Linked DNA regions of Homo sapiens: regions 1, 2, 3, 5, 6 and 7 are each linked to region 4. The links are contacts of gene promoters, found by promoter capture Hi-C in blood cells and fetal thymus (Javierre and others, 2016). All regions are on one chromosome and are shown on one strand. Each heading gives the region's core, a stretch centred on a gene start or on the middle of the fragment in contact. The rest is flanking DNA. Distances are from core to core; before and after follow the strand shown.

Region 1 (3,431 bases), core at 911-3,410, 480 kb after region 4:
TCCATCCCTGCTGCACCCTGAACTAACTGATGTTAACCCTCTTCTCTCTTCCTCATGGCTGGCAGGCCCACAGGTTTGAGCTCTGTTTCTCTGTCACTTCCCACCTCATCTCTTCTCTGCCTCACCCCATTGCCTTCCTCCATGCCCACCACACCCCCACCACCCTTCCTGTCCTGTGGGGCCTGGGCCAAGGCCGTGGCCCAGCCTTTGCAGACTGAATGCAGCCGCCCTCTCCCCATCCTCGCTCCCCAGCCTGGGGGACAGGGAGCGAGAGTAGGAAGAGGAGGAGGAGGAGGAGGAGGAGGCGGCCCAGGGTAAGTGACTACCCCATGGCTGGGGACCCACGGAAGACAGAAGCCCAGCAGGGGGATCTGCCAAGGGGGAAGGGAATCTCAGATACCCCTGTACCTGAGAGGGAGAGGAGGTCTCACTCTGGGATGAAGCCAATGGGAGGAGAAGCCACCAGGCCCTCTAACAGGCAGGAACAAGAAAGGTCCCAAGAAACGCAGCACTGAGGTCAGCCAAACTAGGTCTGTCCAGTCCCCGCCCATGCTTCTGGGGGGTTCCTCTCTGATTTGGGGAGCAGGCAGGGACTCTGGGAGGCAGTGGGTAGAACAGAAGGAAACCCCTTGCTAGGACTGCCATGGAACCAATGCTCCTGTCCCACAATCAGCCCATGTCACTCCCTATTTAATCAAGACAAAGGGATGGGCCTGAAGTATCCAGACGGTCCCACCACTGTCCCCTCCAGGGAACCCCTCAGGGCTTTTCAGCTACCATGACTTTCCTTTAAACTTGATCTCCCTAGAATCTAAGCATTTTTTAAATGGTGATAAAATACACATAACGAAATTTACCATTTTAGCCACTTTTTAATTGTAGAGTCCAGTAGTGTTAAGTACATTTGCATTGTTAAGGAATACAGCAGTTTTTAAACAAGCAGTTACATAGCTTCTGTGTGCCACGCACTGTTCTAAGTACTTTACAAATGGAAACTCATTTTGTTTTTCTAATCCTCAAAATAGTAGGGTATTGAGAAAAGGATGGGTTGACAGTCGGTAGTGTAATTATCTAGTTTTACAAATGTGGACACAGAGGTGCAGAGAGGTGACATAACTTCCCCAACATCACCTGCTTAGTAAGCATCATGGGAGGGGCAGAGCCACGTGACCCAAGCTTATGAGGAGGCTGTGGGCCCACCCCAGCCACAAGTCCCAGATTCTACTGGGGACCGTCATCCTTTGTGGGGATTGGGAGGGTTTGGCCAGGAGCACCCCTGGGAAGGGCAGATTTTAGGGGGTTCTTCTCAGGCTGAACCTGGCCTGGTCTGGTCCACAGGATCTGTAATGGTGAAGTCCCCCATGAATCGGGAGCTGGTTGCCACCTATGAGGTCACTCTCTCAGTGATTGACAATGCCAGCGACCTACCAGAGCGCTCTGTCAGTGTGCCAAATGGTAAGGTTCCCTGCAGACATCTCTCATTGGTCACTCAGAGCCAATCAGGGCAGGGGGCAGGTGGGGAACAGGCACTGGTCTGTCCCCAGGGAGGGAGCAACAAGACCCAGTTGCTCTGGGGGCCAGGAGTCAGGCAACACAAGAGGCATGAAAGGTGGCAGCCACCGTGAGGCCCAGGGTGGTGATGGCTACATAGAGCTCAGCAGTGGAGGATCCAGAAGCTCAGAATTGTGTGTGATCTGAACCCCCAGGCTGAGAGTAGGAAGGAGGCTTGGTAGAGCCTGGAACAGATTGAGAAAAAATGGTTAGACAGAGGCTTAGGTTCAGCCAGCAGAACTGGTAACCAGGGTGTGGGTAGGATGTGAGATGGGAACCCTATGATCTTATAGGAAGCCACAGGGTTAGCACAAAGGAAGCAAAGAATGAGGGGAGGTAACCTGAGGCCACAGACACTGCTTTGGGGGTGCAGGCACTTACGGTGGAGAACGGAGGGGCCCAGTGTTACCTTCTGCCAATCGGGCCCAGGCCATCCTGCCTGCAGCCTGAGGCGTGGGCTGGGAGGGGGCTGCCAGAGGGGTGGATTTTGTGTGGGCAGAGCGAGAGTTGAGTGGGGGAAGTGGGGATGGGGTGGCCTCAAGTTGCCTCAGCCATGAGGTACAGACAGCTGCTATAGGGGAAGCCAGGCCTGGCAGATGATGACTGCTTATCTTCACAGCCCAGAAGCCCACATTTTCCGGAAGGAAGGGCAGACTTGGTCATCTCTTCCATGTCAGAGGCTCAGATGGTTAAGGGCCCAGGCCGGTTACATAGAGGGGATACATACAGCTCAGACAGGATCTAGGGTCTTAAAGATTATCTTGCCCTTTCTCATTGAGCAGTTTAGGAAACCGGGGCACAGGAAGGGCCGAGGGCTCCACCAGGGTCACCTAGCCCTTCCTCTTATGGAACAGCAAGTGAGCACACCACTGGAAAGCCTCCTGTGCTGCAGCCTGAGGGTCAGGTCAATCCTCAGGCAGCCTCTGGGGGGCTGTGGGATGCTGCCATGCTCACCCGGCTTGGCTGAGGCTAAGGAAGGCCTGGCCCAGCCACACTAGTGTCCTTCCCCTCTCCCTCACTCCCTGCCTCCACCACAGCCAAGCTGACTGTCAACGTCCTGGACGTCAATGACAATACGCCCCAGTTCAAGCCCTTTGGGATCACCTACTACATGGAGCGGATCCTGGAGGGGGCCACCCCTGGGACCACACTCATTGCTGTGGCAGCCGTGGACCCTGACAAGGGCCTTAATGGGCTGGTCACCTACACCCTGCTGGACCTGGTGCCCCCAGGGTATGTCCAGCTGGAGGACTCCTCGGCAGGTAGGTTAGAAATCTGTCAGAGGAGGGCTGGGGGACATATATCTCTGCTTGCTTAGTCCCCAAGAGAGACCACAGCCCCTCTGTGGCTCCTCAGTGGACTGGGCCAGATCCAAGATGGCCAGCATTCCATGCCAGATTCCAGATGCCCAAACCAGGGGAAGGGACAGAGTGCTTACTCCTGGGTTGGGATGGAAGCCTCTTGATGTCTGCCGGAAACCTGGGATACCCCACCACCCAAGCTCCTACTATTAGTACCACCGAGGGAGCAGGAAGGCCAAGAAGGAGGTGTCTCAGGTCCTGGGCTAGTTGATGCTCATTCCTGTGACTGGGAGAAGCTTTTTCACCCTCCATAAGAAAAACTGGACACCAGTCCCTCCCTGCCGTGTGCCCTGCAACTGGGTGGTGCTGCCTGACCACCCTCCTTCAAGTGACCACAGCTGCCCCTCGGAGTCCAGGTCTTTCTCCTCATACTTTGGAGAGCTGCCATGAATGAGGAGTGGCCAAAATGGCAGTGGGAGCCTCTGTGTCTTAGGGAAGGTCATTGCCAACCGGACAGTGGACTACGAGGAGGTGCACTGGCTCAACTTTACCGTGAGGGCCTCAGACAACGGGTCCCCG
Region 2 (3,309 bases), core at 662-3,161, 440 kb after region 4:
CTGCCACTTACTAAGTTACGTAACATTCAGTCAGTTATGTAACCCCACTGATCTTAGCCTTCTCATCTGGAAAAAGAAAGGGTTGAGCTAAGTTGTCTGTAAGACCCCTTCCACTTCTGATATTCCAAAGATCATTTTTTGTCCCAACAATTGCTACTAATTACAAAACAAGCACGCCCATACCTTAAACAGGTCCCCCAAGGATCTCTGAGTGGCAGCAACTTGCTTTTATAAAGCAACTTGAGCTACTGCATATGATCATTCATTCAGAAGACATGTATTGAGTGCCGAGCCAGCACTGCCTGGGAGCCAAAGGGGCTGGTGGGCACTTGGCCCCCGGAAATGGCATGCCTCCTTTCTCTCGGCCATTTCGCCCAGCTCCTGGCGGGAAGTGCAGCTGCTCCCAACTCTCAAATGAAAAGGAATTGTGCCTGCATCGTGCCTTTGCGAATCCCAGGGGCTGAACTGGGGGCTGGAGCAGGTCACTCGCACCGTCCACCCACCCCAGGCAGGGAGGAATACTCACGGCGGTTGGAGGCTGCCTGCCTTTGCTTGTAGACCAGGAGCAGGATGAGGGGGAGGCAGAGGATTCCTACGATGCAGGCACCCGTAGCCAGGGCTGCAGCCGTGATGTCTGAAAGGGCAGAGAGGTAGCCAAGGTGAAGCCCCATTCCCATTGCTCCTCCTGAGCATAAACTGAGGCTCAGAGAGGGAAGGCCAGGAAGCAGGAGACCCGCCTTTCCCCAGAGTCCCACAGCTAGACCCCCAGCAACCTACAGAGGCATGGAAGATAAGGCGGTTCTCCTTTCAAAGAGAGCCCTGTGCCTGCCGCCCTATGCCCCTGGAGCACTCAGAAACAAGACCTGTCACCTACAGCTCAGGCAGCTCCAGGCAAGAGAGGGAACAGAGTCCTCATCCCAGCCCACAAGGTACAGCTGGAACACCCTTGGCTACAGGTTGTTCTCTGAAAAGGGAGAGCAGGGCCTTCGCAGACCCCATGCCACAGAGCTCAAGGTCAAAAGAAGCCTAAGTGATGAAAGTTTTGAAAATAGACAGTGGTGACGGTTGCACATTGTGAATGTAATTAATGCCACCAAACTGTAGGCTTAAAATGGTTGAAATGGCAAATTTTACATTATATATGTTTTATCATAATAGATAAAAAGCCCCAACTCATCCCAGAGACTCCTTAGCTCTGGGATGGGGCCTCTAGAACCCCTTGATCTCACCACACAAGTCACAGGAGAAACACCCGGGGTGAGAACTAGAAAAACGTGAATCCTTGTACAATGTTTTTCAATTTTAAACTTATTAAACTACCAAAAAAAGTACAAGTTTAAAAAATATTCGAATCTCCTCCTCCCCTTGTACCAAGACCCCCTCTGAAGAGATCATCCCTGTGTGCCGGTTTTTGTGTTATGGTCCTAGTTATATTCCCTGCAAATACAGCAGACGCAGCATCATATGACAATGCTTTTCCCACTGAGCACAGCTTGGACATCTCTCTGTCTCCCCTGCCTCATTCTGCTTAGAGTTTTATCACATGGCTCCCACTAAATTTATTGAAGCAGTCCCCTGTTGGTAGACATGTTGTTTCCATTTTCAGCATAACTAATAATGTAGCAATGAACTTGTGCACGCAGCCTGGCTCACTCAGCAAGGAAATCTGTAGTAAATTCCTAGCGGTCAAAGTGCTGAGCCAAAGAGTATGTGCATTTTCTTTTAGGCTATTGCTAAATTGCCCTCCAAAAAGGTGTACACGAAGCTTCGCTGTCCCAACAGCATGAGGAGGTTTGATTTATTTCAGGGCATCTGCTGACTGCAGGAGTTTAGCTGGGAACAGACGTGCCCTCAGAACCACAACCAACATAAACGCATTTCCTTCCCAATTTTAGCCTTTCCCAGGGCCAAAAGATGGGCTGGGATACCTTGTCACAGTGTCAACTTCGCCCCAAAGAGCTCTGAGAGGTAAATGGCTGTGGTCTAAATGTTGCCTTTCCGCTATTTGTTTGGGAATAAAGGCTGTTTTTGTTTTGCTCTACAATCCGACAGCGTAAACAAGCTTTCAGGAGGTTTGTTCATACTGCAAATGAGAACAAACTGTTTTCAGTCACTTTAGAAGTACCCACTGGTACAGGAACAGTTGCTATGCTAATTACAAAGCAAGTTCCGCTCCACATTACAGCAGGTTCCCTGCAGATCTTAGCAAGGCTGCATTTTGACGTGGAATATTGAAAGTAAAGACATTCTATAACCCAGACACCTCAGTATTTCAAAACCCCCATCAAAGGACCTTATTGTGGGCAATATTTGAGAAGCCAGTTGCAAAGCACTCTCTTCTAGTGATCAAAGCAGGTCTCCTCTGGACGGCTAGTAAGCAACATTTTGTGAGCTTTGCCAGGTGCTCATTGATACCTGTTCCCTATCTGCCTTTGGAGGGTGAGCTTGGCCAGATATCCCTGCCTAACTTCTATCCCCAGGTAGAGATTTCCCCTATGTGGACCCTCTATCAGATCAGGACTTAATTTCACTTTGAGAGCCTGAGGCTTCCTTACGATCTGGGCTGAGTTGAGGCTGGGGCAGAGGGGCGCAGAGGTTTGGGGACAAGTCTGTGGATCCAGCTGCTTTCTGAAGCCGTAGGCATCTCTGCAGAGCTCAGCCTCGCCACAGTTCCCCACCCCTTCCCCCAAGCGTGGCCAGTGCCTGGGCTGGCACTCACAGGGGAAGGCAGGCATACTCACTCACCATCCAGAGCCAGGCTTATCCTGGGAAGGTGATCAGGCGCTGGCAGAGGTAGCTGCCGACACCGCACTAAGGAGTGTGCCAGGCCCTGACACAGCAGGGTGGGATGGGAGGGGCCTGGCCTGCTCAGGCGGCCTTTGTCCAGGGCCTGCCTGGTAGCCCACGGGGATATATGGAGGAGGGAGTTCGGCTGCTGAGGGTTGGGCTGCCTGGTTTCCCAGGGAGGAAGCTGGGTGAAAGCAGACAGCACATTCTGCTGCGCTGGGGGGTGGGAAGAAGTTCAAAGGGAGATGAGCTGCCTAGACCCCTTCTCTGAGCTCACTGAGAAACCACAGCCCCTCAGCAATGCAGGAGCTCCTTGGGCACCAACTTCTCTAGTCTCATTCCCCTACCTCAGGTTAACTTGTACTTTCATGTTATTTCATAGTCAAGCTACACTCTTACTTCCCAAGGATAACATTAAGAGGCTGGCACTGGGGCTGGGCATAGTGGCTCAATCCTGTAATCCCAGCACTTTGGGGAGCCAAGGCGGGTAGATCACTTGAGCCCAGGAGTTCGAGACCAGCC
Region 3 (3,243 bases), core at 744-3,243, 400 kb after region 4:
CCAACCCCAAGATGGACAAGAGATTTCCTATGGACTGTTAAAGCTGGAGAGGTCCTCAGGGGTCATCTAACTCCTCTTCTGAGAGAAAAGAGCCCCCGTCTTCTCTCAGATGACCAAACTGAGGCCCAGAGAGGTGTGACCTGCCCAGGGGCACCCAGCAAGTGAGTGGTGGGGGACTTGGTGTTTCCCCTGTGCTGGGTGGGCAGGGGCAGGCAGTAGGCATCCAGGGTAGGCAAAGCATCCGGCCCAAAGGTGTTTTCAATGCCCAGAGTCCCCATTGGGATTCCTGCACCTTCCATCACAGCATTCACTGCCTTCATTTTCCTTAACTTCCTCTCCTGAAACCAACTGAACACTTCATCTGTGGCCCCCATTCCTCCTGAGATGACAGAAGACAAAGCTTCCAGGGTGGTGCAGGCTGCTGGAGCAGGGAGGCATCAAGGAAATCTCACCATGGATAGGCATGCAAGGGCATGCTCTGGGCAACGTGGCTCTCTTCACCATCCTGAGCCCTTCCAGATCTGGACAATTGAAGCACCCTGTTACATCCCTCCACCTGCCAGCTCCTAAGGTTTCTCAGGGAATGGAGAGAGAAAGAACTGCACGGCAAGGGGCAATCCAGCCATCCCCAGCTCTGGCATAAATCCAGAGGGCTCTCTGGAGAAGGTGGCATCACTCATGTTGACCTTCACCACACATCCCCATGCTAGGCACCAGCCAAGACGCTTTGCAAGATGACTTCTGATCTTCCCCTCAACCCTGCAAGGCTGGTCATCATTGTGCCCAGTCTAGAGATGAGAAAACTGAGGCTCAAGGGGGCTAAAGTACTTATCCATAGTGCCATAGAGAGTAAGTGACAAAGCCTAAATTCATGCTTGGGTGTGCCTGACCCAGGGCCCTTGTTCTTTTTGCTCCAGTGTACTCGTCCTCCTCCCCACCATCAACATGCTCATCAGAATCCTTAGACACACTTACCGCAGTGCCCGGATGTGCATCGAGGCCAGCGCCTGCTACAGGCTCCTCGCTCTGCCTTCATACCACCATGTCTATACTCCCTGTCCTGTGGAGGTTCCAGGGCATCAGTGCTGCTGATTGAGGCTGTCATTCCACTCTTCCAACCACAGCCCTCTGCTGTCCCTGCATGAGCCCTTCACTCCAGACTGGGGTCCTAGTTCCTTCCTTAGCCTCCCCAGCTGCCTCTACTTCAGCTAACACTGTTTCCCAGCACAAATGTTCTTCCCAACCTTCTCTGCTAAGCCAGGTTTCCTCCATCCTTCCAAACCCAGCTCCCTCCTTTGGAAACCTTCAGCCAATCCCACCTTCACTGCTTTCTTGATCTTTGCTAGCAGGAACCCATCCCCATCTTCTCTGCAGTTTTGTCCAGTGAGCAACGATAGGAAAGCCTACATTAGGGCTTCGGGTGGCAAGAAAGAAAATCCATTCTATATTATCTTAGGCAGGGCCAGACATGGTGGCTCATGCCTGTAATCCCACCACTTTGGGAAGCCAAGGCGGGAGGATTGCTTGAGCTCAGGAGTTCGAGACCAGCCTGGGCAATATAGCAAGACCCTGTCTCTACAAAAAAAATAATAATAATCTAGGCAGAAGGAGAAGTGTACTGTAGCAATACTGGGATACCCTACAGGATCAAAGGAAAAATCAAACAGGGAGCGAGGCACAGATGGGCTCCTGGAATAACTGGGCCCAAGGATGCAAACCAGGGCTGAATGTTGTATGTGTCCTGCATTCGTGCTTACTGAGTGTCAGCCTAGTTCCTCTCCCTGGAGCTCTGCTCCTAAGTCGTTCACATATTTGACCCTACTGTGTGCCAGGATTGTTGTTCCAGAGACCAGGGATATCGCAGTGCACAAAGCCCTTTCTTCCTGTGGGGATATGGGCAATAAGCAAAGATAGCATGTATCAGAGGGTGACCAGGGGTAGGGAAGGCCAGGACATTGGAGTGGGGGCTATAATTTCATATGCAGTGCTCAGGGAGGGTCTTAGGAGAAGATATTTGAACAAAGACCTGAAGGAGATGAGGGCATGAACATGCAAATATCTGGAGGGAGAGCTTGCCAGGAAACAGCCAGGGCAGAAGCCATGAGGCCAGCACACGCTTGGTGTTCAAGAAACAGCCAGGAGACCAGTGTGCCAGGGCAGTTAAGAGGAGAGAGTGGTGGGAAGTGGGGCCCAGGGATGTGCAAGAGAGGGGCTGTTGATATTCCCACATTTTACTGCTAGAAAGACTGACTCAATCTCTCTGGGCCCAAGGTCAACAATCCCAGAGAAGAATGTGATTGGCTCAGCTTTGATCAGGCACCCAGTCCTGGACCAATCCCCTCTGACCGTCTTGGCAGGGTCAGGAAGAAAATGGCAGCTCCCATGCACACCACAGGGCTGAAGTGAGAGGTGGTGAGACAAGAAGGGGCAGACCCAAAAGAAGTGGGAGAGCCCAGGGCCTTACAAAGCAATTCACCACAGATCCAACAGGACAGCATGTCATAGGAGGGTCTAGCCTCTTCCTGCACTGCCCTGGGGGGTGTTTGTTCTCCACTTGTTTTGGGTGGGCAGTGGGTAAAGTAGGTATTCAGTTATTGGCTTGACAGGACTCATGTTGGGGTCAGCTATGGTTCTGCCAGTAGCCTCGAGGCTGCACTCCTTGTAAAAAGGGCTGAGCACTAGGCAGTGTCTCAGAGTGACAACAACGTCCCCCCCCACACACAAGCCCACCAGAGGAAACACATAAACACATAAGCCTGAGTCGCAGCCACGCCAGCCAGGCCGATCTGAAGCTAGACTGGGGTGATGGTGCGTGTGAATGAGCATGGAGCCATTGTGTGGGAGGAGGGCTCCTGGGCTTCCACGAAGTGACCGTTACAGTGTACAGTGCCGGCTGGGACCCAGTGTGGCCAGAATAACTTCAGGCCAAGGAAATGCGGGCAAGAAGTAGCCATGCAGTTCAGCCACCCTGGGAGAGGCTCCTGGGCTCTGAAAGGCTGCCGGGTAGGGAATGTGGAGGGATGGAACAGCCTGAGAAAGCCTGGACCCAGCGAGCTGCAGTGCCATCTTTCACCTTCTCCCCCAGCCTCCCTGCGAACCTGGAGGAGGATCGGGGCAGAGCTGGTCCTGGACAGGGCTGCAGGGGCCATCAGCGGTCGGACATCCTCTTGGGGATTAGAAAGACATACACGTCCCCTTGTCTCCCACACCCCCAGCCTCTGAGGGAGACCACAGGTTTTGGCA
Region 4 (3,367 bases), core at 644-3,143:
GCTGTCCCAGCTCCCCTCAGCCTCACCTGCCTGCCTGTAACCGGGCATGACAAAAAGAGCCTTGGCTCTGGGTTCTGCCACTCCATCACTGCCAGCTGTGTGCCCTGGGAAGCCACTTGACCTCTTTGAGCCTGGCTTTCCTCATCTGTAAAATGGGGACAACAGTCCCATTTCACTGGGTACTGGGGTGGGGGGGTGGAATCAAATGGGAGACTGTTCATGAAAATGCTCTGTATATTAGAGGATTTTTTTCCAACGTAAAGAGGCTAAAAATAAGGCCTGATGACTAAACTAACATATACACTATCACATTTTGGGGGTGGGGAGTGTCTTCCTTGGAAGTGATGGAAATTTGCATTGAGTGCCTGGCATGGATCACCTGACTTAATTCTCCCGACAGTCCTAAGCCGACCCTGGGTTTCAGAGAGGTTTAGTAATTTTACCATTATCCCTCAGCTTGTAAGCCTGGAGCTAAGCCCCTTCCTCTCCTGGGCCGGGGGGCTTTCTGACAATTTAGGGTGCTAGTCTCCAAACTCGCCTGCTGGTGGAGCTTGTTAAATAGATCCATTCTGGATCCCCATTCTGCACCCCCTGAGTGATGGGTTGTATTAATCCAGGTATTTATTGAACACAAATTATGTGCCCACGATGAGGGAAGAGCAAACAAAGCAGATACAGCACCACCCTCAGGGATTGGGGAGTGGCAGCAACCCTCCTGGGGAGAGGTCCCCAGAATCTGGATGTGTACTCGAGACTTTTATGATCAGGCCAGTGTTTGGGGAATGGTGGTTATAAAATGAGAGGCTGGGGCAGGGAGTGGGGATGTTCTGAGAACCTGTCCACACACTGACAGCCTCAATGGGTTCTGTGGCACCCCTGAGCCCTGGGATGGCAACTGCAAGAATTTACTATCCATGGTCACAGATCTTCAGGCCCTGTGAAGCATCCAGATCCCCGCTCTGAATAGGCCAACTGGGCCAGGACCGGGAGTCAGGAAGGTTTCCGCCTTTTTTTTTTTTTTTTTTTTTTTGAGATGGAGTCTTGCTCTGTCGCCCAGGCTCCAGGCTGGAGTGCAGTGGCACCATCTCGGTTCACTGAAATCTCCGCCTCCCGGGTTCAAGCGATTCTCCTGCCTCAGCCTCCCACATAGCTGGGATCACTGGCACGCACCACCATGCCCGGCTACTTTTGTATTTTCAGTAGAGACGAGGTTTCGCCATGTTGGCCAGGCTGGTCTCAAACTCCCGACCTCAGGTGATCCGCCTGCTTCGGCCTCCCAAAGTGCTGGGATTACAGGCGTGAGCCACCGCGCCCGGCCCCTGCTTTCTTAAAGAACACGCGGCAGCTGTGTGTTACACGCTATGGCTGAGGTCAAGTGTGAGGGCTGGAATTGCTGACTGCCATGTTCTGGGTCTACTGAAAATAGCTGCCTGGCCTGGGAGGCCCAGTTCAGTCCGGGTGTGGGTCCCGCTTCACCTCCAGAGCAGCGGCAGCCGGTAAGGGTAGAAGCGGCCTTTGGAGAGGGGTCTCTGCAGCGGCCTGGGGACAAGATGAGGGCTCCTTTGAGTCCTGGGGTGCAGGTTATAGTAGCTAAAGGGGAGGTCTGAGACAGTGGGGTCTGGCTCCAAGGTAAAGAAGGAGCAGCAACCAAAAGGCCTGATGCGCAGCGCACCCATCGCAAGCATGGGCAGTGCGTTTAAGACTGGGTGACTCACTTTTTCTCCTATAAAATGGGCGCACGCAGGCCCCAGCTCAGCGCCAGAAGGGGGAGCCCCGGCGCGCCGGCAGAAGACAAAGGAAAAAAGCGTGTTTGCAAACGGGGAAGCGGCGGCGTGCTGCCGCGAGGGGCGGGGCGGGGCCGGGGGAGGAGCCCGCCTGCCGCCTGCCAAGCCCAGTGGTCCTGGCCGTGCGCCGGAGGCAGCGGCGGCGTGGCGCAGCGGCGACAGTAAGTGCGGGCCGGCTCGGGCTCTTCCGGCTACGGTCCCGGCCGCCCCCAGACTCGCGCTCAGCGACCTCCCTCCCGGGCCCTGGGGGCGGCTGCGGGCTGCCAGGGGAGCCGCAGGACCCTACCCCATCCGTGGTCCCTTCCCCACCGTCCCTCCTCTCTCTCCTTGCTCTCTGCCACCCCTCTTTCTGGGTCTCTATCTTCTCTTCCCCAAATCCTCTCCCCTCCTCCTCCCTGAGACTGGACCTCACCGCCTGTATGGTGGGGGCCTGGTATGGACCCGTCGGCCCGAAGTATCCAGACGGTGGCTGATTCTCTCGGTCCCAGCTGCGGGGCCTGAGGCTGGGGCTGTTTACACCGCAAAGCCGGTTCTGCCGCGGCCAGTAGGCGGTGCCCTGCGCTTCCCAGTGCCTTCCCACAGGTTAGCCCTACCAGCTCCCCACCCCGGTTCACAGCCCAGGAGATCGAGGCACAGAGGGGCGAGCCACCTAGCCAGAGTCAGGAACCTCCTTGGAACCAGCACCCAGGCTTCCCAGCCCAGATGAGGTTTTGCCGCGGCCCCAGCAGTGCCTGCCTCCTTGTGTGGGGCTGTCTGTCTGTGCATGGCCGGGCTCCCGCAGGTGACCCAGGAGCACGTTCCAGGCCACAGCCAGCTTGTTTTGGGGAAGGTTGGGCACTTCCTTGCCTGCCTTTCTCTTTATTTTTTAATCCAGAAGCCAGCAGCTAGCTTTTATAAAGACTAATAAGACTTTGCTCACTCCAGTGCCCTGGCCTGTGACCCTGGTTAGAGAAAATTCCTGGCTCCTTCTTCAGAAGCTCAGTCAAGCCTTGACAAATAGACGCTAGGAACTGAGAAGGGGGCCCTAGCCAGGTGTGGTCCTGAGTGACAGGGCTGGTGGACCTTCTAGCCGCCCCCACAGGTAGCTGGAGCCTCTGGAAAGAACCACTTGCCGGTTCTCTCTTGTTCTATGTGGGTGGGTCATGATTATTTTTTACATTTTAAACACTAATTTTTAAAATGTAACAAGTGAGCTTGTTACATTTGTACCATTTTGTGCCAGACAAAATAGCATAGACTGGGTGGCTTAAACAAAATTTGTTTCTCATGGATCTGGAGGCTGGGAAGGGCAAGATCAAGGTGCTGGTTGATTTGGTTTCTGATGAGGGCTCTCTTCCTGGCTTGCAGACAGCCTCCTTCTTGCTGTGCCTTCACATGGCTTTTCCTCTATGAGTGGGTGCATGTGGAAAAAGCGATTTTCCACACAGTGAGCTTCCAGACAGTGAGCTTGTTAATGCTGGCCTCCATGCGAATCCAGGCTGGGGAGGGGCTCTGCTAACCAGGGGAGTTTAAAATAGACTTGCTGGCTGGATGCATTGCACTTGGGCATCCAGTGGCCCCCCACCTGCTGGCTCCAGGGTACA
Region 5 (3,235 bases), core at 665-3,164, 420 kb after region 4:
CCCCCTCCTGCTCCTGGGCCCATTTCCTTCCCTCTAAGCCCAAGGTTGCAAACAAAGACACCTTCGGGCAATATCTGGCCACCAGATGTGTTTTGGACAGCCCACACATAATATTCTTCTCTAAATTTTATTACTCATCAGCCAATTTCACTTTAAAATCTAGATTCCTTATTTTTCATGAAAAACAGGAAGCTTTGCTCATGCTAGACCAGCATTCCTAGCCTCCATCCACTTTAGCCATGGCCTGGCTTTTCAGTTCTCCTGTCCCCACCACCTCTGACAGTCTCCCCACCAGGCCTCTTCCCTTGCCCTCCTAGCCAAGATTTAAGTGTGTCTACCTGCCACCCCACACCAATCAGACTGCTAGGAGCCATGGGCCCAGGGCCTCCTTTGTAAAGTCAGGATAGGCTTCGGTGGGCTCTGAGGGTTTGCTGATGTTCCAGAACCCACTGGGGATCTGGTCCCTACTGGACCCACGGTGGGACCCAGGTGTTTGGGGCCAAGGAGGGGAAGGAGGCTGTAGGTCTCTGACCACGTTCACCCTCAGGTCTACATCACTGTGCTGGACGAGAATGACAACAGCCCCCGGTTTGACTTCACCTCCGACTCGGCGGTCAGCATACCCGAGGACTGCCCTGTGGGCCAGCGAGTGGCTACTGTCAAGGCCTGGGACCCTGATGCTGGCAGCAATGGGCAGGTGGGCCACCGAGTGAAACAGCCAGGATCCACCATGTCAGCGGGGCTCCCACAGCTCTCACAGCTGGAGGGGCCTTCTGAGCCACCCCCATCACCAAGCACCAGGTTCTTCCGGTCTCTGCCCCTGCAATCACCCAGTCTGTGGTCAGGGAGAAGGGACAGAGCTGCCTCAGAGCTATGCAGGCCGGTGGCCCTGCCTGGGTCATGTGGACATGGAGCCCGAAGGCCAGCCAAGGCGCAACCCCTCAGTGAAGTTGTTTTCCGGGTAACTCCTTCCCACGCAGCCCCAGCTCCCTGAGAGGACATGCTCGTCCTCTCTCCTGCTTCCTAGGCCCAGCCCCATGGCAGGAGGCGCTTGCTGTCGCTCCAGGTTTGGACACCCCAGAGTGCAGAGGGAGAAGTGATGAAACCCGCCAGTGTTCACACAGCTTTCATCTGTTCCGTGCATTAGGCCGTGTGTTTGCGGGTGTTAGCATGGCTTGCATGGTCTAGGGGGTCGAGGGATGCTGGCTTTGGAGACAAAAGTGTGTAGGTTCAGACCTCTGGCATTTGCAAGCTGTGTGACCTTGGCTGGTTGTTCCATGTTTCTGAGCCTCCTCTCTGTGAACTGAGAACAGTTGCTTTCTGTCAAGGTTGCCGTAAGAACCAAGTAGAGTCCAGGTAATGCCGCAGCGTGTGCCCACCCCAGCAGCGTGAGCACAATCCCCTCTACCCTGGGAAGACGTCAGTGCCATGGGACTCAAGCCCCACTCTTCCAGGCCAGGATACTGATATCTCCTAGCCCCGGAACTTTCCATGGGTGCTACACTACCTCCATGGGCCTGCACCCCCATTTTGAGGGAGATGAATCACTTCTGCTTAAAACACTGCACTCCCAAAAGCCCTTGCTCAACAGAGGGCCCACGTGGGCAGAGGAGGACCAGGGAGTCCCCCTTGGCTTGACCTGGCCACCTCTCCTCCACACCTGCTCACCCCTCACCCTCTCTTCTCCCCACAGGTGGTCTTCTCCCTGGCCTCTGGCAACATCGCGGGGGCCTTTGAGATCGTCACCACCAATGACTCCATTGGCGAAGTGTTTGTGGCCAGGCCCCTGGACAGAGAAGAGCTGGATCACTACATCCTCCAGGTGGGGCCTGGCCTCCCTTGGACTGAGAGACCACTGGCTAAGTGCCTAGACCGGTCACTACTCTCCATCCAGGAGAGAGCCTGTCCATCAGCACACTCTGGTGGTCAGTGCCCCTGCTGTCACCAAGTAACATGGGGCCAGCTGCACCCATCGGGGCCAAGAGCACAGTGAGGCTGACCCAGGATAGGGAAACCTGGGAGGGACCTTAGATACCCAGGAGGAGGTAGTTGAGGTGTCTTCCCCTGCTGTAAGAGCCAGGAGGATGAGGGAGAGCCTGGTGGAGCTGGGAGAGCCCCAGCTCTTCTACAAATACAGTGTGGCCTTGGACAGGTTATTAACTCTGGGCCTCATTTTCCCCACCTATGCAATGTACAAAAAAATCCCCGTCTGGCCTGCCCTGTGGAGGGAAGAAGCAAGTGCAGGCTTGAGGAGCCACGAAGGCTATCATTATTGCAGAATGGCCATGGCTGGGATGTTTGCCAAGGGCTTTCTGGGAACCTCAGGACTGCGCTTCTGCAGAGGGCTCAGCTCCTGCAGCACTTATGACTGCATCAAGGCTCCCAGGAACAGGCTCAGCCATAGGGCGCCAGCTCATTGCTTATAATATTACTTGAGGCTCTTTTCCCGTTTGCCAGAGATCATGGGACAGAGTGCGTGGGACAGAGGCCTTTGAAGCTAAAGACAGGAGCCTTGGGTCAGGTTGCAGGCCCAGGGTCATGGTCAAAGGCTGGCACAGCCCAGAATACAGTCAGAGGTAGGTCAGGAGGTCAAGGCTTGGGTACATGTTAATCAGATTCCAAACGAGGATCCCAAGTCAGACGACGATTGGGCAAGAATCATTTGCAGCATGGGGCAGAAGGTGAAGGCTTTGGGGAGAGCCCAGGGCTGGCCGGGAGAGCCCAGGGCTGGCCAGGCCACCCAGGGGTTCTCAGTGAGTCTCTTTGCCCTCCCAAATGCTCCCCACTGATTGCACAGCCCTTTTGGACTCCATATTCCCAATCCTGCCCGCCACGCTTTAGCCCTGACTCCAGTTGCCCTCCTCCTTGCAGGTTGTGGCTTCTGACCGAGGCACCCCTCCACGGAAGAAGGACCACATCCTGCAGGTGACCATCCTGGACATCAATGACAACCCTCCAGTCATCGAGAGCCCCTTTGGATACAATGTCAGTGTGAATGAGGTGAGGGCAGCCCCGGGGCCCATATAGCTGGACATACGGGGGGACCGTGGGCACGAGCCAACCATGCAGCCCCTGTTTAAATGTCTGCCTGGCCCACTGGTCCCTCAGATCTCATGGATGGGAACTGTGGCTCATTCGTAGTGATAGCCCTAACGCCTAGCCTGGATCCTAGAATGCAGTATCTTTTTGGAGTAGAGGAGAAGAGAAAAGAGAAAAAGAAGAAAGTTGCCTTTCA
Region 6 (3,534 bases), core at 1,035-3,534, 460 kb after region 4:
ATTTTACTCAGTTTACCCCAGTCTAGCTGAAGCTTCCAGGGGTTTTTCTGGCACTTTAGGGATCTTGGGTTAATAGGTGACTCCTAGGCTGAGAGGCAGAGGACACTCAGAGTCTGACTGGGTCAGGAACCAGGGTATCAGGACTCAATGGGAGCCAGGAGTCCTGGGGGCCTTGTGGGTGGCCTGATCCAAGTCACGGGCTCTCTGGAGGCCCTTAGCCCTTGCTCTAAGGGCAGGGAAGGCTACAACAGAGGAAGGCTGAGGCATCATGTTATTACTAAGTGAACTTGTGCAGGCCCAGTCCCCCTGGAGCCAGTGAACTCCCCAGGATGGGAGCCCCAGAGGCTGGCAGGACATAACCCAGGTCCTTGGGCATGCTCCTGGCCTTGTGACCCCACCTTGGAAGGCAGCCCAGGGCCCTTCCTGCTGGCATAGCATGAGCTCCCTTCCACCAGGGGAGGTACAAAGCCAACTGAGATCAGGTGGACACCGGGCCCTTCTCACCCTGACATCCTCTGGCAAGTGAGGGGGGTCCCTTAAGGGCAAGATCCTAGAGCACCACCCCATCTCAACCCTTCCTGGACTGGCTTTGCTCAGGACACCCTTGAAACCAGACTCCCTCTTCCCCAGGGCCTAGCAGCCGGGGAGGGCCTGGAATTAGAGAAAGGGGAGCAATTGCCCTGCCAACCCCTTCCCCAGGGGGATAGAGCCTCTGAGCTGGGCCCAGTTCCCTCCCCCCTTTTCACTTCCTTTCTCCCTACCACACTGCCCACCACTGAGCCTCCTGGGGTTGCATCAGGGTGAGACACAGGCATTGCCCAAGGACCATGGTCCAGAAACCTCAAGCACTGTTTCCTCAACACCAGGGCAGGACAGGAAGGGCTCAGCTGAGAGGGCCTTTGGAGCACTGACTTTCTCCTCCCTCCGAGACCAGAGGAAGTCAAACCCACCTTCCCTCCCCAAGCCCAGACCTGGTCTCAGAGCAGGAGGGGCTCCAAGGCCCAACTCTGTTCAAACTCTCCACTCCCAGCCCCTGCAGCCTGCACACTCCATCATGTGTTTGTGCTTGTTTTCATTAAAAATAGTGGTGAAGGCCCCAAATATTCGAATAAAGATGACTGTCAAGGAAAGCCACCATGTCCATCTTGTGGCTCTGCAGGGCCTGGAGGCAGCTGTGAGTACTCTCTACTGGTGAGGGGCCCAGCCTTGAGCCTTCCTGAGTCCCCTTACTTGCCGGCAAGAATACAAGAGCACCACATTGCAGGAAAGGGGCTGAATTCCAGCCTCCCTGTTGGGGAGGGGATGCTGACATTTCCCACATTCCCAAACTCACCTCCCAAACTCCCTGAGCTAGAAACAACTTTAGAAATCAAGCCAGGTCCTTTATTAAACAGACAGAAAAGGTCCAGAGAGGGGATGTGACCTGCCCAAGGCCACGCAGCTCCTTTTCAAGGCTGCCAACCCTATCTGCTTTGGAAACCGTTTCAGCAAACACCCAATGCCCTCCACCCCCAAGATCCAGAGCTGCATATCAGAGGAATCATTGCCTCCTCAGGGGCAGTGACAGCCTTCTTGGGTCCAGATCCCCTGCCCATCTGTCCATTCTTCCAGTGGTAGCTCCAGAGCCAGCCAGTCCCAAGGAAAAAACCATATGCAAATTGCCTACATTGAGTTGTCTGTACCACCTGCTTTCTGTTCTCTGGCCTGGCAATGGCCTAGTCACGTTCTCTCTACCCAGACACCTTTGCAGTGATTAACACCTTATTATTTTATATTAGTCACTCATTATGATTTGTATTAGTTAGGGTCCTGGCAGGAAACAGATGGCACACTCAGAAAGGGTTCAACTGAAGAGAGTTTAATACAGGGACTGTTTAGGAAGGCTGGTAAAGCACCCAGAGACTAGCACCAACCACAGGAAGCCACTACCACTCACATGTCCAAAGGGAAAGAAGAGGAAGTGATGTTCTGGAGCCCAGTGAAAGCTGGTGCTATGAAAGGGGGACCCCTGTCCCCAAGCAGGAGAAACACAGCCATGGGCAGAACCGCAGTGAGGAATGGAGGGAGTGTGGAAGAAACACCCCCGCCTCTTTCTCCCCACTGCTTTCATCTTCAGCCAGGGCCTCCCATTGGCCACACCCAGCAGGAAGCTGGATAGCAAGGGAGCCAGGGTAAGGCAGTTAGTCCACAGGGGACATCTTCCCAGGTGGAGAAAGGCAGGAAGCAGGAGCAAGAACCATTTCTAGTTGATTCTTGAGTGCTGATTGCCGAGTTCTGATTAGCTGAATATTACTTGTGGTCCAATTGACTCAAGCATTGGCAGAGATGGCCGATCACAGGAGAGTATGTTGTAGAAGCTGTTCTTGGAATGAAGTTATGTTCTGTGAGTCTTATTTTTCACAGGTCAACAAGTTCTGCCCACGAAATTGCCACAAACCCAATGTCCTCCTTCTGGAAATGCTGAAAATATGTATTTCTTTCATTTACATGAACAATAGATGAAGGTTAAATATGGCATTGGGCCGAGTGCCTCACATTCTTGCCTCTTGTAGTCTGGCAGGACATATAGGCTCAATAAGACACAGGCCCTCGTAAAGCTCTGAGCTGGGGTGACTACCAGGGTTCATCCCATATGCCAGTCTTAATCACTAGACCACTGTGCTAACAAGGATCCCAAGTTTGCATCTGGCCTCAGCAGTTCTGTGATTGATTAGTGATGTCTGCTGGGGGTCGCAGACATAGGAGTGGTGGTGCCAGTGCCATCTTGGACAGAGCAGTTACCTTACTTGGCTTTTGGTGGAGTTTTTGAGCTTTCTCTCTCTACCAGCCTGTGACCCACCCCCTGCTTTCTTCTCCTTGCCCTTTCTGTTTGAGTCACATGGAGTGAGTTCAGCCCAGGAGAACAGCCATCTGGATCCACCTTGGTCCCTCTGGCCACCTGACCAAGGACGTGACCCACTCTTTTCCACAGGCCACCACGCACGTGTACGTGACCATTGTGGATGAGAATGATAACGCGCCCATGTTCCAGCAGCCCCACTATGAGGTGCTGCTGGATGAGGGCCCAGACACGCTCAACACCAGCCTCATCACCATCCAGGCACTGGACCTGGATGAGGGTCCCAACGGCACAGTCACCTATGCCATCGTCGCAGGCAACATCGTCAACACCTTCCGCATCGACAGACACATGGTCAGCAGCTGATGGCAGGATCAAGACAAGGGGCGAAACCTATCCAGGGATTGGCAAGGAGTTCAGTGACACTGGAGGGGGATGGAGCAAAGATGCAGTCTAGGGGAAACTGTGGGGGCACTCAGTGTGGGAGGATGAAAAGTTTGGTGGAGTGGAGCCTGGGCTAGGGGGTGGCAGTGGTTCCCCATCACAGCTCCAATGTCAGGGCCTACTTCCCAAATTGGTCAGAGGGTGCTGCAGACCTACCACCCCTAGATCCATCCTTGTCCCTTCCCTGTGTCCCCCAGGGTGTCATCACTGCTGCCAAAGAGCTGGACTACGAGATCAGCCACGGCCGCTAC
Region 7 (3,125 bases), core at 543-3,042, 380 kb after region 4:
TCACTTGAACCCCAGAAGTGGAGATTACAGTGAGCCGAGATTGCACCACTGCACTCCAGCCTGGGTGATGGAGCAAGACTTCGTCTCAAAGAAAAAAAAATTCTCCCTTTTCAAACTGTTGAGAGAAGCATTGTAGAAACACAAGGAATGCTGGTCTTCTATGTCCATCTGTGAAACGACTTGGCCTGTTTTAAATTATGCCTGGAGTACCTAAGAGCCCTATCTCCTGTTTGCAAAATGGGGGTGTTGGGCTTCCCTTTATGGAGGCTAGGGAAACTGAGGCAATGTGCCCACAGCAAGATAAGGACACCTCAGACCTGGAAGGCAGGGACCTCCCCTCCTCTACCCTTTGGTGCTGCGAGGCTGGGAAGGGAGAGGAGGGCCGAGCAGTCCCTGGTGGGAGTGGGGGCTGCCCCCACCTCTCTGAAGGAGAAGCCTGCCTAGGGTGCCACAGCATTCAGCCCTCCATCAGCCTCTCTCTCCCCGGCCTCCCCAGGACCCATGGACAGGGGCAGATGGGAGTTCTCAGCCAGGGCAGCTCATCTGTCTGTTCTGGTCTGGTGGCCCCAGAGACACCTCTGGCTGGGGATTAAGCAGAGGAGGGACAGATTCTGCTGCCAAAGCACAAAAGGCTCCACATCAAGTAAGATGAAGGAGCTGACAAGCCTGGCTGTCATCACCGAGTGTCCTGCAGTTAAGAATAACACTGTCCTGATGTGGCCCCAGGGACTGTAGTCACCTCTCTCCCCCCACCACCACTGATCTTGTCCACCCCTGGTGCCACAGTGGCCTCTGCAATGCAGGGTCGGGGGTGAGCGAGGGGTAAGGGGCCACCTCAGGAGCCTCCAGGCTGGGAGCTGGGTCAGCTCCAAGGCTGGTGCTGTGTGACCCTAAGACTGGCCTGTGCCTCTCTGGGCTCTGCTTTCTCCTTGTGGAAGGTAGGGCGGTTGGAGGACGAGGGAGCTTCCCCACAGAGCGGGGGATCGGTGCACGCAGGGGGCCTCGGCGAAGATGAGGAGCCCTCAAAGGCTGCAGGGGGCCCTTTGCCTTTTGTTTATGACCTGGCTGTGTGGGATCTGGGACACTAAGGGACAGCAGGCTGTGGGGTTCACCGCCCCTGGGTTAGGATGGCACTGAGCACTGACCCCTTCATGACGTGGGGGTTATAAGTGGGGAACCAGGCTGTAGGCCGGGGAGTTGAAGGGGCCAGAGTGTCTGAGGTCCAGTCCTGAGACCCTGCCCCTTATCAGGGACCATGTACCTCCCTTCCAGGGAGCTCCACCCTCTCCTTCCTTAACACTCCCCCAGCCCTGCGACTGCCCCAGCTAACTGGGTCCCACCTTCTGAAACTGGGCCCCAGCCATGGCTTCCTTCACATGCCCTGTCATCTCTGGTGTCACAATCTAATGCTTCAAAGGAAGGAAGGGAGGGAGGGTTTGATGAGGAGGAACCCAGTCTCCAAAATCCAGGGTTTCAAATCCTTTCAAAAATCTTAGCTGGAATACAGACTCCCCAGCCATTCCCAGCCCCTCCCCTAGAGAACTCCTGCCTCCCAGCCCTCTCGGACCCCCCTACCGGGCCCAGCGGGGATGCCCACTTCCTGGGCCAGAGCCAGGATGTCCCCTCCCCAGGACCAACGTCTGAGCTCAGATACTCCCGGCCAGCCCAGAGACACCCTCCCCAGGCGCGGCTCAGTGAAGGGGTCTGCTCCCTCCCGGGCAGGTGGTGGCTGTTGACCCAGACCTGGGGGAGAATGGCACCCTGGTGTACAGCATCCAGCCACCCAACAAGTTCTACAGCCTCAACAGCACCACGGGCAAGATCCGCACCACCCACGCCATGCTGGACCGGGAGAACCCCGACCCCCATGAGGCCGAGCTGATGCGCAAAATCGTCGTCTCTGTTACTGACTGTATGGACCCCTCTCGCCCCTCACGGCCCCCACACCTTAGGCTGCGGGTGTCCCTGGTGACTGGGCCTCTGGGGTACCTGGGGCCCACCCAGGAGGTCTATGTCTGATCACCAAGAGTAGAGTAATACCCACGCCCCAGTTGTGACTCCTAGAGCACCCTGAGGGAACGGAGGGAGCTGGGGAGGGGAGCTGTGAGGCCTAGGCTGCTTCCTGGAGGGGCCTTTGGGATGGAGGGCTCTGAATCTGCCACCCTCTCACCACTTGCCTTCTTCCTGTCCGTTTTCTCTTGCACCCATCTTACCCTGTCCTTGGCCCCTTCTCGCCCTGGTCTTCCCAGGTGGCAGGCCCCCTCTGAAAGCCACCAGCAGTGCCACAGTGTTTGTGAACCTCTTGGATCTCAATGACAATGACCCCACCTTTCAGAACCTGCCTTTTGTGGCCGAGGTGCTTGAAGGCATCCCGGCGGGGGTCTCCATCTACCAAGTGAGTCTCTATCATCTCATTCCTACCAGCCCAGAGGTGGGCAGTGGGTGCCTGAGGAGCCTAGCCCAGGCTGAAAACTTTGCAGGGCTGGGGCAGGGGAGGAGCTGGGTCTTGAAGGACAGAGGCTCTGGAGATGTGGAGGGAAGTGTGGCAGGAAAAGGATAGGGAGATGGGCAAAGGCAGAGGTAGAGAGAGGGAGAGAGGCAAAGATGGAATTCTGGAAGTCATGTCCAAGTTTCTCAGGGCCTGATTATGGAGGTCTGGCCCAGGACCTTGGACCTTCCATTCCCTAAGCCTGCAGATGGTTCTAGAATACAAAGAAGGCCAGATGAGTGTAGCCCTGGGCATCTGCCTCTCCCATGCCTTCTCATAAGCCCCGGATCAGCTCCCTTTACTACAGTAGAGGGGCCTCTGTCTACTTTGCAGGGCTCTAAAGAGACTTGCCCAAGACCCCTTGGCCAAGCACATGGTCTGATCTTGGGCCTGGCTTCTTTGCCTCCTGTTCCATCATCCTCTGATTAGAGGGATCCTGAAGGTGCTGGTTTAGGGGAGATGACATCCAGGGTTTCAAGTCCTTTCAACACCTCTGCCCTCCGGGGGCCATTCAGAAACACTGGAGACCCTCCTGGTTAAGAGCATGGGCCGTGGAGTCCAACCAACGGGGATGTGAATCCCATCTCCAGCACCAGGGTGCTGTGTACTTGGAGCAAACTGCTTAACCTCTCTGAGT

The links. The method cuts DNA at HindIII sites, captures the fragments that hold promoters and counts their contacts. A CHiCAGO score of 5 or more calls a contact.
Region 1: a contact is called between a fragment that was not itself captured here and the fragment with the promoter of SLC29A3 in region 4, in 11 of 17 cell types (total CD4 T cells, naive B cells, naive CD8 T cells and 8 more). The highest score is 11.1, in total CD4 T cells.
Region 2: a fragment that was not itself captured here is called in contact with the fragment with the promoter of SLC29A3 in region 4 in 5 of 17 cell types (total B cells, naive B cells, total CD8 T cells and 2 more); the score reaches 7.9 in total B cells.
Region 3: a contact is called between a fragment that was not itself captured here and the fragment with the promoter of SLC29A3 in region 4, in 7 of 17 cell types (naive B cells, total B cells, total CD8 T cells and 4 more). The highest score is 9.1, in naive B cells.
Region 5: a fragment that was not itself captured here is called in contact with the fragment with the promoter of SLC29A3 in region 4 in 6 of 17 cell types (naive CD4 T cells, naive B cells, monocytes and 3 more); the score reaches 6.6 in naive CD4 T cells.
Region 6: a contact is called between a fragment that was not itself captured here and the fragment with the promoter of SLC29A3 in region 4, in 12 of 17 cell types (naive CD4 T cells, activated CD4 T cells, non-activated CD4 T cells and 9 more). The highest score is 11.7, in naive CD4 T cells.
Region 7: a fragment that was not itself captured here is called in contact with the fragment with the promoter of SLC29A3 in region 4 in 16 of 17 cell types (naive B cells, M2 macrophages, endothelial precursors and 13 more); the score reaches 15.9 in naive B cells.

What each region holds. Positions count from the first base shown.
Region 1 is chr10:71,795,766-71,799,196 of GRCh38, forward strand. CDH23 (cadherin related 23) reads left to right here. Exons shown (of 70, transcript NM_022124.6): 49 at 1,339-1,455; 50 at 2,589-2,813; 51 at 3,346-3,431. Among named protein-coding and RNA genes, the nearest start is that of MIR7152, 6.7 kb to the left of the region's middle. The HindIII fragment of the contact is 1,972 bases long and covers 1,175-3,146 here.
Region 2 is chr10:71,754,833-71,758,141 of GRCh38, forward strand. All of the region lies in intron 38 of CDH23 (cadherin related 23), which reads left to right. It overlaps VSIR (V-set immunoregulatory receptor), which reads right to left. Exons shown (of 7, transcript NM_022153.2): 4 at 527-634. Among named protein-coding and RNA genes, the nearest start is that of VSIR, 17 kb to the right of the region's middle. RefSeq lists an enhancer at 2,763-3,298. The HindIII fragment of the contact is 297 bases long and covers 1,764-2,060 here.
Region 3 is chr10:71,720,699-71,723,941 of GRCh38, forward strand. The region is part of intron 28 of CDH23 (cadherin related 23); the gene reads left to right. It also overlaps a transcript of C10orf105 not described here. Among named protein-coding and RNA genes, the nearest start is that of C10orf105, 2.5 kb to the left of the region's middle. The HindIII fragment of the contact is 3,191 bases long and covers 399-3,243 here.
Region 4 is chr10:71,317,366-71,320,732 of GRCh38, forward strand. SLC29A3 (solute carrier family 29 member 3) reads left to right here and starts at 1,894. Exons shown (of 6, transcript NM_018344.6): 1 at 1,894-1,945. The coding sequence starts at 1,945. LOC124902445 (a long non-coding RNA gene) reads right to left here and starts at 2,298. Exons shown (of 2, transcript XR_007062183.1): 1 at 2,197-2,298; 2 at 604-1,539. RefSeq lists a silencer at 1,691-2,140. The HindIII fragment of the contact is 7,819 bases long and covers 1-3,367 here.
Region 5 is chr10:71,737,951-71,741,185 of GRCh38, forward strand. It overlaps CDH23 (cadherin related 23), which reads left to right. Exons shown (of 70, transcript NM_022124.6): 35 at 548-697; 36 at 1,694-1,822; 37 at 2,872-3,000. Among named protein-coding and RNA genes, the nearest start is that of C10orf105, 20 kb to the left of the region's middle. The HindIII fragment of the contact is 3,448 bases long and covers 191-3,235 here.
Region 6 is chr10:71,774,709-71,778,242 of GRCh38, forward strand. CDH23 (cadherin related 23) reads left to right here. Exons shown (of 70, transcript NM_022124.6): 39 at 2,972-3,193; 40 at 3,481-3,534. Among named protein-coding and RNA genes, the nearest start is that of VSIR, 3.0 kb to the left of the region's middle. RefSeq lists a silencer at 3,298-3,453. The HindIII fragment of the contact is 4,509 bases long and covers 31-3,534 here.
Region 7 is chr10:71,700,300-71,703,424 of GRCh38, forward strand. CDH23 (cadherin related 23) reads left to right here. Exons shown (of 70, transcript NM_022124.6): 23 at 1,723-1,912; 24 at 2,250-2,395. Among named protein-coding and RNA genes, the nearest start is that of C10orf105, 18 kb to the right of the region's middle. RefSeq lists enhancers at 397-1,311, 1,312-2,225. The HindIII fragment of the contact is 7,797 bases long and covers 1-3,125 here.